Linked DNA regions of Homo sapiens: region 1 is linked to region 2. The links are contacts of gene promoters, found by promoter capture Hi-C in human tissues and cell types (Jung and others, 2019). All regions are on one chromosome and are shown on one strand. Each heading gives the region's core, a stretch centred on a gene start or on the middle of the fragment in contact. The rest is flanking DNA. Distances are from core to core; before and after follow the strand shown. Region 1 overlaps PLUT (PDX1 associated lncRNA, upregulator of transcription). Region 2 holds the start of PDX1 (pancreatic and duodenal homeobox 1).

The links. Contacts are between HindIII fragments. The study calls those that stand out against the background at their distance.
Region 1: a fragment that was not itself captured here is called in contact with the fragment with the promoter of PDX1 in region 2 in 3 of the 25 tissues and cell types used here (liver, pancreas and stomach).

The regions. Positions count from the first base shown.
Region 1 is chr13:27,872,863-27,876,410 of GRCh38, forward strand. The region is part of intron 1 of PLUT (PDX1 associated lncRNA, upregulator of transcription); the gene reads right to left. Among named protein-coding and RNA genes, the nearest start is that of PLUT, 43 kb to the right of the region's middle. The HindIII fragment of the contact is 7,641 bases long and covers 1-3,548 here.
Region 2 is chr13:27,917,452-27,921,440 of GRCh38, forward strand. It overlaps PDX1 (pancreatic and duodenal homeobox 1), which reads left to right and starts at 2,549. Exons shown (of 2, transcript NM_000209.4): 1 at 2,549-3,093. The coding sequence starts at 2,688. The HindIII fragment of the contact is 14,480 bases long and covers 1-3,989 here.

The DNA of each region.
Region 1 (3,548 bases), core at 11-2,510, 46 kb before region 2:
AAATTATATTCCTAACCATTTATTGTTGGTAATGGTATTTTGGGCATAAGTTTCTGTATTTGTTAAATTGTCTTTTTAGGAAAGACCCCAAGAAATGGAATAACTTAGTTTAAGACTATGGATGCATTGAATAACTTTTGCCAAGTTGTTTTAAAATTTAAATCACAATTAAAATAAGTGAGAGTGCCCATTTCATACCTTGCACTATCCAGTGTTACTTTTGTAGATCAATAATTAATTGGTTTGAGGGAAATAGTATGTTTTTGTTTTTATTTACTTTTTTTACTACCTGTGAAGATGAACATTTGTCCATAAGTTTCAGCTATTTTTCAGTCATCTGCATAAAAGACATGTCCCTGACACAAACTGTATTTGCAGAACTGAAATACCACTGACTGAGCCAACAGAGGTGATCTAGTTGAGTGATTGTCTGCAAGGTGAAGGCATGTTTGGTGATTGAAGTAATTGGTGAGGGGGCTACTACTGGCATTTGGTGGGGGAGTGCCAGGGATGCCAGATGTCTTATAAATCATAAGACAGTCTTGCATTATGATGAATGTCATACTGAACATTTATGTGAGTGGAAAATATTCACAGTTTTCTCTGTTTAGAACCTAATTCTTTCCTCCAGACATGTACACATTTTTGCATCAATTTGATATACACTGAGATTTCTAGGCATGCAACTATAGTGTAAATTAAGGCAAAAATTGCACTTTGATTTGTTTGGATATTAACAAGAATTGTTCAACAGTTTGGAAAACAATGTCACCGATGGTGACATATTTACGCCATTGACATTGCCAATACAACACATCATTACCCATCTGTTTTTGTAGCTGTCCCATTCATAATAATTCTAAGAACAAGTGCAAGAATCTGGCTTAAAAAATGGAATCTTCTAGTGTAGGCATGCTCAAGCATTTACAGAATGTTTATAAAAACATTTATAAAATTACATGTCAGTTCATAACAAATTAGTTTCTCTTTATCCTCCCTCTTAAATTTAGTGCAATATATTTTGATGGTATTATTATTGAGATACAGGTAGATAATATTGTCTGTAAATATAATTTCACAATAGTAAAGCGGGCCTTGCAAAACATTGATATAAAAAGTGGGTCTGGACATATTAAAATAATTAATACCGTATGACCAAATTTATTCCATGAAACAGAAAATGGGTCAATATTAGAAAATATTTTAATCAGCTGGGTGTGGTGGCTCATGCCTGTAATCCCAGCACTTTGGGAGGCTGAGGCGGGTGGATTTCTTGAGGTCAGGAGTTCGAGACCAGCCTGACCAATATGGTGAAACCCCGTCTCTACTAAAAATACAAAAATTAGGTGGGTGTGGTGGCGTGCACCTGTAGTCCCAGCTACTCGGGAGGCTGAGACAGGAGAATTGCTTGAACCCGGGAGGTGGAGGTTGCAGTGAGCCAAGATCATGCCACTGCACTCCAGCCTGGGTGACAGAGCAAGACTCTATCTCAAATTTTAAAAAAAAAAAAGAAAGAAAGAAAATATTTTAATCTAATTCATAATATTTACTAATAGATCTAGGAAGATAGAGCATTTGATTATCTCAATAAATGCTGAAAAAACTTTGATACAATTCAACACCCATTCATAAAACTTCTTGAGAAAACAGAAAAGGAATAATGTTTCCTTAACCTGCTACATTAACCATTCCTTTCTATTTGCTTTCTTTTCTTTTTTTTATTTTTATTTTCTTTTTTATTTTATTATTATTATACTTTAAGTTTTAGGGTACATGTGCACAACGTGCAGGTTTGTTACATATGTATACATGTGCCATGTATACATAATGCACCCATTAACTCGTCATTTAGCATTAGGTATATCTCCTAATGCTATCCCTCCCCGCTCCCCACACCCCACAACAGTCCCCAGTGTGTGATGTTCCCCTTCCTGTGTCCATGTGTTCTCATTGTTCAATTCCCACCTATGAGTGAGAACATGCGGTGTTTGGTTTTTTGTCCTTGCGATAGTTTGCTGAGAATGATGGTTTCCAGCTTCATCCATGTCCCTACAAAGGACATGAACTCATCATTTTTATTTGCTTTATTTTCATGCTTTGACATCTGGAGCTTTGCTGACCCTGGAGGCACTACCCATTCCACGGTGAGCTAATTCTTAGACATAGCTAACAATTCACCTGCAAGACCTCCTCCTTTATCAGGCTTTCACATTCTGGGCCACCATCCACCTGCCCTAATCACCCCAGGGCCAAGTACCAGACAATTAGGGGCAGCCCTTATGCCTCAGGGTACAATTATTCAAACCAGCCAATCCTGAGCCTCAGCCTGTTTGCCCTGCCTTGTCCATTCCTTCTCATAGAAACCACAATAAAGGTTCCAGCCCACAGTTCCTCCTCCCCTGCTGCCTCCTGTCTGGGCTTGGTGTTTTCCCGTGTGGTATAGTGTACCCCATCCTTTTGCAATCTATGGATATAATTTTTTTCTTTTCTTTTCTTATTATTTATTTATTTATTTTAAAAGACAGGGTCTCCCAGGCTGGAATGGAGTGGTGAACTCAATCGATCCTCCCCCCTCAGCTTCCTGAGTAGCTAGGACCACAGGCACACCTAGCTAATTTTTTTTTTTTTAAAGCACCATAGTCTAACTATTTTGCCCAAACTGGTCTTGACTTCCTCACCTCAAGTAATCCTCCCACCTCTGCCTCCCAAATCTCTGGGATTACAGGTGTGAGCCACTGTGTCTGGTCCACACTGTCTTTTTAATGGCAGTCTTCTCCTGATCTATTGACCTTGCCATAGTAAAAAACAATTAAAACCACATTTGAAAACGCGTGTCAAAATACACAAAATTCAATCCTAAAGTCAACATCTTATTTAATAGGGAAACCCAAGAGCTATTCCTATTAATGTCAGAAGCAAAGCAAAATGTTCACTGTCTCCACAACGGTTTAACATTGTTCTGTAGGTACTACTCAATACAATTAGAGTAGAGAAAACAATTAAACATAAAAGGGAAAAAAATAAAATTAAAACTCTCTCTATTTGCTGATGACATAATAGCAAACCTGGAAAACCCTAGAAAATCAATAATAAAACAATCCAAACATTAAAAGAATTTCATAAGATAGCAGGATATAAAATTAACATGCAAAAATCAATGGCACTGACACCCAGCTTCCAGTCTGACATGTAAAGAGCTTAGAACTCATCACTCCCAATCTCAAAACAAGAAAAAGAAAAGAAAAGAAAAGAAAGTTGCTGAGTAAACGGAAAACCAACAACTCTTCTTAAATTCTTCAGACAGTTGAGGTCCCAGGACAAACTGCTACCCTGAAAACTAGAGAGGCAGACAGGAAGACACAGAAAACCATACCTTACAGGGAGCAGAAGCTGCAGCTGGAGCTGGTAGCAACACTTACGGGGTAAAGGACTAATTGCTGGAGACTGAGCAAGAACTAGCTTGAGAGATAAAACTCCTGAAAGCCCAGGTTCAGGGGTGCCCCCATACTGTCCTGTGTTGTGCCTTCAGGGGTCCCACAAGGTTTTCA
Region 2 (3,989 bases), core at 1,299-3,798:
ACGCATTTCGCCTGTAATGGACTCGGCGATTTTACGATACCAGGAGCTAGATCCACGGGGAAGTACAACACACGACCTTACTAAGCGGAGGGTTCCGCTTGATGCGTTTTTTATACGGCTGTACGTGATAAAATTCCAGATAACTTTGTTTCATCTAATAATAATAATAACAATAATAAATGGTTGTTTGACCTTTGCTCCCTGGGTCCCTTCTATAGGTCGCAGGCAGCAGAAAATGCTAATTGTGAAAGTGAGAACGCGCCTCCATGGAATACCCCCGGCGATCCCCTCCTCCTCCCCCACAGCCGCGGGTACCCGGGTTTTTGCCGGCGACCGCAACCGGCGGATTTGCTTTCTGCTGAGAGCCTCTTTTCTTTCTGCAGGGCCGAGCAAAAATATTAAATGGAAGCAAATGAAGCATCGAAATGGAGACCAATTTACAGAAATGTGCAATTAGTTGAGAAGTGCAAAGTAAACACTCCGGGGGTGGCAGGCGAGGCAGGGAGCAGGGGAGGGAGAGTGGGGCGCAGACTGAGTCCAGAGTGGGTGTAGGGGTGCCCAGGGAGGAGGGGAAGGGGGAGGAAAAGGAGGGGGAGGGGAAAAGTGGCCGATCTTTGTCCTGAGCGGAGCTTGCCGTCCGCTCATAACCGCGTCGCCAAGTCAACCCTCGGCGACTCGGCAGATTATCTCCAAGGGTCAACACGCCGCGGCCAGGCAACCCCCTCCAGCCTGCCCTCCTGATCGATGTGGTCACTCGCGGCCAGGGTGATAGGGTAGAGTTCTCCGCGGCCGCAGACAATGGACTCATTGACGCGGGCGCACAGAGATTAGGTGCCCGGGCCCCACGGCCTTTCACTCTCTGCCCCCACCAAAACTGCAGGTGGCACTTTTCCCTGAAGAAATCACCGAAACTCTCCCCGCCCGCCGCCGTGCTTCCCTTGGCCTGTCTTCGGTGACAGCAAGGGCATCTACAAGCCAGGGAGCCACACATCAGAGCCACACACATGAGGCCACAGGCCAGGAAGCCACACACATGAGTTCTCACACATCGAAGCAAATGCTGAGACTATACCGGCCTCCCGCAAGAGAAGGAATCTGCAGAGAAGTCCACATTCCCGACTGGCTTTTTTGTCTTTTAATAAAAATAAAGAGTCCTCAGAATAGAGCACTCAATCCGCACTTAAAACACAAATATTTCCAGTAGGAAGAAAGAAATACATTAAGATTGACTCTCAAAGGTCTGGATGTTGGTGCGTTGTTTAGGAAAGGCGGAGCAGTGATTTTTCTCTGGCTTGGTTCTTTGTGGTTCAAGCTCTCTCTTGCTGAGACGTTTCTGCAAAGCTGTCTAGTTTTTCTAAAACCCACGGTGGCGTTTCGAGAAACGTCCTCATTTCGGGAGTATCCAGTCAGAGGCTGGTCAGGCCGCCAGGCCTAGCGGATCATGCCCAGGCAGGGGGTTGGACGTCACCGCCACCCGGAGGTCATCCATCCGCGTCAGTGGGTGCAGAAAAAGTGGCCCTGTTTAAGTCAGGACCCCAGAATGCCCAGAAGTTACTGAATGGTTTGAAGCCAAGCACAGATGTTATCATGGAAAATGCAGCGTTTTTATTTCTTTTTCTAAATATGTAACTCTTCCTCCACTTCCCCCTCTCCTGCTTGCCTTATTTCAATTGCAAGCAGAAGAGAGTGAGTGTTCTCTGCCGGCAAACTCCGCCAGGGTCCCGGCCCGTAGAGAGTCGTCAAGGGTCTGGAACCCCCGTGCCAACACCTGCCCCTGCTTCGCAGCCCCAAGAGGAAGGCCGCGTCTTTCCCCCTCGCTGTATTGGGAAGCTACGTTCCGGGCTGGCCAAATGGGCCCCAATTTTCCAAAACCCAAATTTGTAATACCCTTCAATTTTTTAAAAAAAAGAATTTAAAAAAGTCTCTGTGAATGCTTCAGAAGTTACCGTTTACACCCCAGAAGTACTTGCAGCACATCCACAAGTAAAAACACACAACGAATGCCAGAGTTTCGTGTGTTTTTTAACCGACATCTTTGTGGCTGTGAACAAACTTCATAAATAAAATAGAATCAAATGCTTCTGACCTAGAGAGCTGGGTCTGCAAACTTTTTTTTTATCGTATTCCGCAACAGTTAAATAAAAAATTAAAAACTCAACATGTCTCCTTGTAAACTACATCAATTAACAAACACACTATGTCCATTATCAAATATAATAGAAAAAATATAGGAAAATAGAAAATAGAAAAATATAGGAAAATAGAAACTTTTAAGCCACGGTGAAAATGTTTCTATAAATGAGTGGTTCTAATGTTTTCGTGAGCGCCCATTTTGGGGAGCACCGCCAGCTGCCCGTTCAGGAGTGTGCAGCAAACTCAGCTGAGAGAGAAAATTGGAACAAAAGCAGGTGCTCGCGGGTACCTGGGCCTAGCCTCTTAGTGCGGCCAGCCAGGCCAATCACGGCCCCCGGCTGAACCACGTGGGGCCCCGCGGAGCCTATGGTGCGGCGGCCGGCCCGCCGGTCCGCGCTGGCTGTGGGTTCCCTCTGAGATCAGTGCGGAGCTGTCAAAGCGAGCAGGGGTGGCGCCGGGAGTGGGAACGCCACACAGTGCCAAATCCCCGGCTCCAGCTCCCGACTCCCGGCTCCCGGCTCCCGGCTCCCGGTGCCCAATCCCGGGCCGCAGCCATGAACGGCGAGGAGCAGTACTACGCGGCCACGCAGCTTTACAAGGACCCATGCGCGTTCCAGCGAGGCCCGGCGCCGGAGTTCAGCGCCAGCCCCCCTGCGTGCCTGTACATGGGCCGCCAGCCCCCGCCGCCGCCGCCGCACCCGTTCCCTGGCGCCCTGGGCGCGCTGGAGCAGGGCAGCCCCCCGGACATCTCCCCGTACGAGGTGCCCCCCCTCGCCGACGACCCCGCGGTGGCGCACCTTCACCACCACCTCCCGGCTCAGCTCGCGCTCCCCCACCCGCCCGCCGGGCCCTTCCCGGAGGGAGCCGAGCCGGGCGTCCTGGAGGAGCCCAACCGCGTCCAGCTGCCTTTCCCATGGATGAAGTCTACCAAAGCTCACGCGTGGAAAGGCCAGTGGGCAGGTAAGCCTGGCTCCCCACCCCTTTCTCCTTTCCGGTTCTCACCCGGCCGCCTTACCTCCAAGCGCTCCCAGGAGCCTTCTCTCTGTTCCCGGCGCCTTGGATTATCCCGGGTCGGACTAAACTACATCAGGGAGCTACCGAGCCCATCCCTCACAGCAGTGCTTCTCTAGTCCAGTTTGAAGCATCTTTCCCACCCAGCTCTCCTGGGAGTGTACACTCCTTCCTTCCCTGTTCGCTGAGCCCATCTTCGCCCCAGGAGCCCGCGCTCCCAGCGCCATCCTTAGAGAGCCGAGGCTGAGTCCTGCTCAGGGCTTCGGACACTACAGATCCTCCTCCAGCAGGGGATCCGGGAACCCAGGACTCCTTGGTAGTGCACATCGAGGAAGCCGAGTAGGGACATGGGTGCCTCGGACCCAGGCCCCAGATCGCCTTCGGAGCCCCGGAGCCCCTCACTTCCCGCGCTTCGTTAAGGAAGGGCAGGCATCTAGGGGCGCCAGGTAGGTGCAGAAAGGCAGGGAGGGAAAGGAAACTGCACCCAACCCAGCAGTGTCCGGCTGCCCTGGTTGTGGAAACAGGATAGGAGTAAAGAGGAAGGGGCTGGGGCAAGGCGGGGGCTCACCGCGAGGCTGAAAGCCGGCCTCTCAACGTCAGAGCCTGGCAGCTAGGAGAGCAATCTGAGAAGCGAATTCGTTTTTCACCAACCGAAAGCAATTGAAGCTGTCTCCCCGCACCGCTTCCCAGGAAGTAATTTTTCAGGAGATGGGCGCTCCCTGCCTAGCTGGTGGGGAGGCGAGAGGCCTGGTTCCTGCGGCCCTCCGCGCCGGCAGAGAACAGAAGGTCTTTCCCGGAGCCGGGAGCCGGAGGCACGGGGTAGCCCCCGGGTCCTTTGCGGCCCC